Regions from separate parts of the Homo sapiens genome. Here regions 2 and 3 are each linked to region 1. The links are contacts of gene promoters, found by promoter capture Hi-C in blood cells and fetal thymus (Javierre and others, 2016). All regions are on one chromosome and are shown on one strand. The core of a region is centred on a gene start or on the middle of the fragment in contact, and the rest is flanking DNA. Distances in the headings are between cores, read along the strand shown.

Region 1 (2,724 bases), core at 113-2,612:
AACAACTGCATTCCAAGGCACAACAAATCCATACTACAGTATTCTCCAACTGTCACTATTCTTATATTATAAATCCTGCCTGCTTATCAGTGAAGAAAAAAAAAAAGTCAATGGCATTAAAATGTAACACAAATCTCGGCTTCGATACTTTATCTAAAATTACTTTCTCAAAGACATACTTTCTAAAATGTTTGGAAAATTAAACAAAATTCTCCTCTCCCCATCCAACTAATGCTCAATTCTAACCACACTTCTGCTTTCCCTACAGCTTAAGTAATTTCACTGGGAGTATTTTCTCTGGAAGTTCTTAAGTGTACTTGTGGGCCCCTTTTTTTCCTCCTTAAACTTCTAATATCTTTCAGGCTGTAAATTCCTTAAGGGCGCCTAGCCCCAAAAAAGTGCTGCATATTTGTTCAATAAATGAATGCACATAAAAACAATGGATAACTATGACCTTTAATGTAGGAGCTCAAGCCATTTTATTATTATCTGACTTGACAGTCAAGAAAATTATCCCAACTTGCCAGAGGTATCCATTACTGTGATAAATAAACACTATAAAACGCTTTATAAAGTTTCTAAAGACTTTATAATCACTTGAAATAACGCCGCGTTGGCCGAGAGTAGGGTGAAAGAAAATGTTTCCTCACACTAAGCAAATGCCACCAAAGGAAAAGCTTTCTTTCCTGGAGAGAACTGCAACAGTTAGAAAGCAAATATCCACACTCTCCACTGCTCCCTTCTGGGAACTCTCTTTGAGGGTTCCTGCAGAAAACGAACGGGCCTCTGAGGAAGCTCGCCCGAAGGCCGGGCCGGGGCCCGGCTCCTGGCTGACCACTGGCGCAGCGGACGCCGCAGGGCGGGTCCCGGGAGCGGCGAGTTGGCGAGGCGGGCTCCGACTTGCTGACCTTCCCCACACGCCCGGCAACCCCGGCTCCCGCTGGCGGGCAGAGTCCACGCCTACCTGTTGTGCACAGGTGAAGCCAGACTTTCCCGTAGTCCAGGAGGAAGAACGGACCACGCTGTTTATCAGCCGACCCTGTGCCCCAGTCAGCCCCTTCTCGGCGGACTCCAGCCCTTAGGGTCAAGACACCTAGCCCCTCGACCGGTTCTCCCACCGGCTTCTTTCGCGATCACATTGCTGCCGCGACCACCCTCGGGATCCCCGAGCGCTCAACTCATACAGCGGCCCTGGTGCGTTCTCCTTCCCAGCCAACAGGCAGCCCAGACACAGCCCCCTCGCGCCCGGAGGTGTCCCCGCTCCCTGGATCCCCGACTGCCTGCCTTTGGGGGTCCTCCTCAGCTGAGCGTGCGTCCCGGTCCAGCAACGTTACCGGCTGCTCTGCTAACCCTAGCAGAGTCTGGAATTGCCGGCGGCGGCGACAGCGAGGCATTGAGGTGGGCGGGGCGCGCGTGGGGCGTGGCCGGAAAGCTCTCAGCGGCGAGCACCGCGGGAGCTAGCGATTGGGAGCGCGCCCTGCGCCGGGCCGCTGGTCCAAGGCCCCGCCAGCTGGCCGCCGAGCCATCGAGCGCCCACTCTGGCAGGCGTGACTGCTTCACCGTCGAAAGAGCGATGGAGACTGCGGCCCAAGTTAGGATTAGGACAGCGGTTTTTCAGTCCGGAGATTCCGGCCACAACTATTTTTGTCTGTTTTTATCGTAAGCCAGAGTCTTTGGGTGCAGCTCTGGGACACCTAAAGGGCCTGGAGAAATTCAGGCGGGGCCAGTGCTGTGGGGGTAGATGTTAGACGTGGAAGGGACCCTAGAGAGCCTTGACTGTGAGGACTGAGGTAAAGTGACTTGCTCAAGGTCACATACTAAGTCAATGGCAGAACTGAGACTAATAGCCTCTTACCTTGAGTCATGTGCGTTTTCCCACTACACTCAGCGTTTTAAATGTCATTTTTCAAGTTTCATTTTGAATCTATCTCCAGCTTACAAAAAGGTTGCAAGTATAGTACAAAGAACTTTTTTTCCCTGAATTGAGATTTAAATTGCTGACACCATGCCACATTGTCCCTAAGCACCTTCTACATAATCACAATATAACCATCAAAATCAAAACATTTACATAACTCGGCGTTTTACCAATTGTCCCAATAATATTGTTTATGGTAAAAGATTCCGTTCAGAATCAGGCATTGTATTTACTTATCATGTATCTTTCCTACTCTTCAAACTGGAACTCTCAGTCTTGCCTTGCCTTTCATATTCTTGACGCTGTTAAAGATTCCTGGCCAGTTATTTTTGTAGAATGGCCTTCATTTTGGGTCTGTCTGATATTTACTCATGATTACATTTAGCTAGGTATGACAGGACTCTAGAAGTGTTGCTGCTTTCTTCTCATGGCACCCTATCAGGTGGCACGATTTTAACTTCTCTCATTACAGATGTTTACTTTAATAAGGTGATGTCTGTTAGGCTTGTCCAGTGTGGTTACTTTTTTCCCCCCTTTGTAAATTAATAAGTATTTTGTGAGGGAGACTCTGAAACTCTCCTTTCAAGATATTTGTAAATATCTTGTTTCTCATCAAATCTTCAGTTAATGTATTTATATTAATTAGTATGGATCCAGAGGTTTCTATTTTGTTAAATGACTTATAATCCGTTTCTTTCTCTCTTTTCTCTCTCTCTTTTTTTTTTTTTTTTTCTTGAGACAGGGCCTCCTTTGTTGCCCAGGCCGGAGTGCAGTGGCTATTCACAGGTCGATAATGCAATCATGGT
Region 2 (2,724 bases), core at 123-2,622, 1.1 Mb after region 1:
TATTACAAGGACAGAGGGATAATACAATAGTGAACCAATGATCACTTCCTATACTTCTGTCACTCTGTGACGCTGAGCATACTTCCCCAGAGTCCCTGGTTGGAAGGAGGGCACACTTACTATATGGGATGCATAGGTGCCAATGGTTGAAGTTGTGTTCATGCAGCATATCTACCCAGAATTGGTATGGTGTTGCCAGTGTAGGTGCTAATACTACTTAGAATGGTGAAGATTTGAGTACAGAAGCTTCCCTGAGAAGTTCTGTACTTTAGTCTTAATTACCATATATGGGGAAAAGTCTGTATCAAAAGGGCTGTGTATTCTTGACTGATCTTTGTGTCTCCCAACCTTTTCTCTTTTTCTTTGCTAGTTATGCCAGATGTTTCTAGTGTCTACAGGTATGATGGTCATAGTCACCACCATATCATAAGATACCTTCCCCCATTCCCTTTATCCTGACTTGGTATAAACAAGTTCCTTTTTCCTTTACCTTAACTGGGGCAGGTATGTATACAGGGAACCTTCAAATGGACTCTTAAAGAACAAAGGTCAAGCCCTGAAGTTTCCCATTGCAAGTGCATTCTAGCCTGTGGCACACCAAAGTATTTGGAAAGCTCTGCTCTATCAGTTATTCAAGGACTGAGGTTCCTTCCCTCCTAAGCAACCCTGTCCAATAAAAATACAGTAGAAGCCACAAATGAATCATACTTGCGATTTTTAAATTTTCTAAATCAAGAAAGTAAAAACACAATAAATTTTAATATCTCTTATTTAACCCAATTTGTCCAAAATATTGTTTTAACATGTAATTAATATAAAATTATTAATAAACAATTTCAAATTCTTTTTTGCACACAAAGTTTTTGAAATCCAGTGTGTATCTTATACTTAGAATACATCTCAATTTGGACTAGCAAAAACATTTCAAGTGCTACCACATTGGACAGTACAGATCTAGAGGTTCATTTTTCTAGGACCTCAGAATCCTCGATCTTCAGAATCCAGTCAGCAGACAAGGAAAAGAGAGTACATAAAATATCTCAAAGGAAGTTTTAAGGATTCAACCTGGCACCAAAGTATATCACTTCTACCCACGTTCCATTGGCCAGTATTTAGTCCATATGACCTGATCTAACTAACTGCCCAGGGCACCTGGAAAATGTCATTTAGCTGTGTGCCCAGGAGGAAAAAAAAATAGGTTTGGCGAGTACAGAGTAGAGTCTTTACCACAGCATAAGGTATTATTATTACCATATTTTACAGATCAGGAAATTGATGCCCAGGCAGATTAACTGACACTCTTGTTAATGAGAAAATGTAAGTAGATGCGAGGTCTTCACTCTCTGGAGTGATATTTCTTCCATCAGACTGCCCTTCTTTCTTTCCTTTATTTGTCCTTCAACCTCCCCTTTAACTCTGTGCATGTAGATGCAGCTCTTGCAGTAAACCTATGTCTTCAATATTTTATCACATTGGCTCTCCTAGGCTGTACTCTGACTTAATGACAGTATCCTATTACTTCTGTTTTAGAAAATGATAAGCGCCCAGTATAATGAAGCAAATATGCCTTATTACTGGATCGTTTAACTAATAGTACTATTTTCAGCATTGCATTATCATTTTGAGTGGGCCTTTTCCTTCCTCATACTGAAGCTCCTCATTCAAAGCAAAAGATTGTTAAGGTCCTCATCAAGCCATTTCAATCAATGTATAAATTGTATTTTATGTTATAATGAACAGTCTGTTCAATTGAAGTTTTTAGCTTTTTAAAAGTGCTTAGAAGAATAGTAACAGAAGTGCTCTTAATGGTGAAATTATTGAACTGAAGTGCTTGGATAAGCTGTTTTATTTCTTAAATGAAAGGAGATATTTTAGATGGAGAAATGAGATAAATATTCCTCAAAGGAGACTGGTGGTAAAGAGTGACTGCTCTCCATGGATTACTGATTATAACACAAGTGTCCATCAAGAGCAGCTTTTATTGAAGACAGTTTAATTGGACCACTGCCCTTTAGCTTTAAATTACCCACGGCAAACTGGTTTAGAGTTTTTGTTGCTGTCTGTCTTATATTTGTGAATATGAAATACATTTACAGAGCCAAAAATTTAAAAATATGAAAAGATATACAGTGAAAACGCCACCTTTTATACTCCAATGCAGAGAGCTGGCCTTTCTAACAGTTTCTCCCTTTTGTAACCCAACTTTGTAGGTACTCATTCTTCTCTTCTTGCATATTCTTCTAGAATTTGTATATGCATTTATAAGCAAATGTGAATATATATTCTTAGTTTTCCTCCTGTTTTATCCTATACATACTGTTCTGCACCTTGCTTTTTAAACTTTATACACCATGAAGATCTTTCTGCGTCAGAATATAAAGTCTTCTTATTATCCTCATTCTTATAGTTGTGTAGTGCTCTACTGAATAAATGTACCATACTGATGAACATTTAGTCTGTTTCCAATCTTTGGATATTACAAACTGTATTGCAATAAATAAGCTTGAACATAAGTCATTTCACAAAAAATGTAAACATATTGCATACATAAATTCTCAGAAGTAGAATTGCTAGTCAATATATATAGTATATGCATTTGGAATTTAATAGAAATGGCCAAACTGCTTTCCACAGTGGTTGCACTAATTTACCGTCCAACCAGGAATACTTAATAGTGCCTATTTCATGTGCCTTTCCCCATAGATTGTGTTATGAAATTTTTTT
Region 3 (2,724 bases), core at 122-2,621, 1.1 Mb after region 1:
TCTCAAGTAGCTGGGATTACAGGCATGCACCACCGTGCCTGGCTAATTTTTGTATTTTTGGTAGAAACGGGGTTTCACTATGTTGGCCAGGCTGGTCTCAAACTCCTGATCTCAGGTGATCCACCCGCCTCGGCCTCCCAAAGTGCTGGGATTACAGGTGTGAGCCACGGTGCCCAGCCCACTGTCTTTTTTCATCAATGCTAAGAGAATTTAATTCTTTCCACATGAAGCGATTCTACTTCCTCAACACGTGTTTCGTTTTGTGACACAACAACTTGGAGGAGGTGAAATTCATTAACAAGGAATAAATATCTTCTCTTTATGGAGCCACTTCCTTAACCCCTCAAATCTTCCTAGACCACTTCCATCCAACGTAGAATAAGTGAACCATATGAAATTGCTGTTTTTGTGGGTCAAAGGCAATTGAATGGTAGTCTCACATGGTTCAACATCTGTATACAAGCAAGTTCTCTGATGAAAAAGCTGAGTGACTGCGAGTACCATTCTTAGAATTCTTTAGGAGAGAAGAAAGATTTCAAGGTAAACAATCTGACAAACTTATTTGTAATCAAACTAAATTCCAGGTGGGGCTGGCTTATAGTTCACACACATTAAAGAAATAGGGATTGAATCTTGCAGGAAACTAGCACTTTTCCCCAAGGGGGATGAGGATTTAAGTTTCCTTCATGGAATATGTTTCCAGTTCATTTGGTCCTGCATTTATTTTAGAAATTGTTTGATATTTGCACTTCACTCATTTTCCAAAATTTGTTCTGATTCCAGATTTCTCTGTTAAATTTCTATAAATTTGTTTATTTGCTATTTGCTTTGGAGAATAGGAATTATATGAATTTCTTGGCAAAACGGATGAAAATTCTAACCTACCATTCATTTGGGAGAGGTGTACATATGTTCACTTCCACAGCTGTAGCACATTTGTTCTCAGTTTTGTACTTTTGAGACACAGGAAGTATATTTCTTTAAATGTTCTCTCTGGAAATACATACGTAGAGCTACAGCCTGATGAACATTCCTTATACAAAGGAATGTACATCTCAGTGTAGTACTCGTCTATAATTTACTTTCAATGGTTTATGGATGTATAATAATCACAGTGAACCTTTGTTCAGCGCTTACTATATGTCAGATACTTTGCATGCACTATCATGTTTTGTCCTTATCCTGTGATGTGGGTCCTAGTCCTGACACACAACACAGGAAACTGAGGCACAGAGGTTAAGCTTCTCTTCCAAAGACCCACAGTTGTTATTATAATAATAATGCTAAGGCTGATGTTCAGGGCATCTCTAAAGCCTTCTGCTCTCTTATTTACAACACCATTCTACCTTCACATTGGCTACAGCTGATTCAGGCATCCCCTCCATTAATCCTTTTTAGTGAATGTTAGTTTTTGTTGTGGGTTCTTATTTTAAAGGTGATATTTTGGGCAAGATGTCTTGAAGGACTGATGGCAGGTGCATATTGACAATTCTATGCAGAGCAAAGCTTCCAAAAAGGCATGCTATGAATTCTGTCAATGTGGAAGATCGAGCAAAACCAGCTTCTCTTTGCAGCACTGGCATGCAACCAACCTGCTCACCTGCATCCTTACATCTTAATCTGATGAGCAGAGTCTGCAGACAGAAATCATTTTCAGCTCTTTTTTTTTTTTTTTTTTGAGACGGAGTCTCGCTGTGTCACCCAGGCTGGAGTGCAGTGGCTTATCTCTGCTCACTGCAAGCTCCGTCTCCTGGGTTCATGCCATTCTCCTGCCACAGCCTCCCAAGTAGCTGGGACTACAGGCGCCCGCCACCACGCCCGGCTAATTTTTTTGTATTTTTTTTTTAGTAGAGAAGGGGTTTCACCATGTTAGCCAGGATGGTCTCGATCTCCTGACCTCATGATCCGCCCGCCTCGGCCTCCCAAAGTGCTGGGATTACAGGCGTGAGCCACTGCGCCTGGCCTTCAGCTCTTTTAACTACTCATAAAAATGTTTTAAGTACATTTTTAACTAGCAGTACTTGTATAATATTATAATTATTATCTATTTGGTACCTTTAAATTTTCATGTTTATATGCAGAAATAAACAATATATTGTTCTTAAACATATTTTTGTGATATATTTTCTAGGACCTTATATTTATCAATTCAACAAATATTTAATGCCTACCATATGTCAAACTATTCTTGGCATAGCAGTAAACACAAGTGACAAAAATTCTGACCTCATGCTCTTAAAGTTTTTATAATGATTAGTTTTAAAAATCTTTATCCATAGAAGGCTAGGCAAGGAGGATGGATCTATATAGAAGCACTTCCTTACTGAGTTGAGAGGCTTGGGGAGAAATGCATAGTGCCTCCTTATTTGGAAGCCCCCAAAGTCATCTCAGACCCTACTTGGACATAAGTAAACAGCGAAGTAGGATCTGGAAGAGGTTTAAGTTGAACTTTCCTTGTGTGCATTATCCTCAAAGATATATTGCAATAAGATTTTTGTATAGAATGCAAGTCTCCTACTGGATTTTAGCCCTGTTTCCCATCGAATTTTATCTAGTCATATTTGACTTGTGTCAGATAAAGATTAAAACCTTCAGACACCGGGCCGCAAGTTGAAGATCTTTCTGAATCACAGTGCTAAAATAATAGGGAGGGATTTTCCGTAAGTGTTACCAAACTAAACTGGGATCCCCTTGCCTGGTGTAGCAAAGCCAAATACTGACATA

What was found. Contacts are between HindIII fragments. The CHiCAGO score rates a contact against its expected background, and 5 or more counts as called.
Region 2: a fragment that was not itself captured here is called in contact with the fragment with the promoter of HEATR5A in region 1 in 1 of 17 cell types (M1 macrophages); the score reaches 8.3 in M1 macrophages.
Region 3: a contact is called between a fragment that was not itself captured here and the fragment with the promoter of HEATR5A in region 1, in 1 of 17 cell types (M1 macrophages). The highest score is 6.3, in M1 macrophages.

The regions. Positions count from the first base shown.
Region 1 is chr14:31,419,188-31,421,911 of GRCh38, forward strand. HEATR5A (HEAT repeat containing 5A) reads right to left here and starts at 1,363. Exons shown (of 36, transcript NM_015473.4): 1 at 1,285-1,363. HEATR5A-DT (HEATR5A divergent transcript) reads left to right here and starts at 1,571. Exons shown (of 4, transcript NR_110045.1): 1 at 1,571-1,790; 2 at 2,657-2,724. RefSeq lists a silencer at 824-943 and enhancers at 1,054-1,103, 1,534-1,683. The HindIII fragment of the contact is 6,619 bases long and covers 676-2,724 here.
Region 2 is chr14:32,500,395-32,503,118 of GRCh38, forward strand. The region is part of intron 2 of AKAP6 (A-kinase anchoring protein 6); the gene reads left to right. Among named protein-coding and RNA genes, the nearest start is that of AKAP6, 170 kb to the left of the region's middle. The HindIII fragment of the contact is 2,256 bases long and covers 245-2,500 here.
Region 3 is chr14:32,474,019-32,476,742 of GRCh38, forward strand. All of the region lies in intron 2 of AKAP6 (A-kinase anchoring protein 6), which reads left to right. Among named protein-coding and RNA genes, the nearest start is that of AKAP6, 150 kb to the left of the region's middle. The HindIII fragment of the contact is 265 bases long and covers 1,240-1,504 here.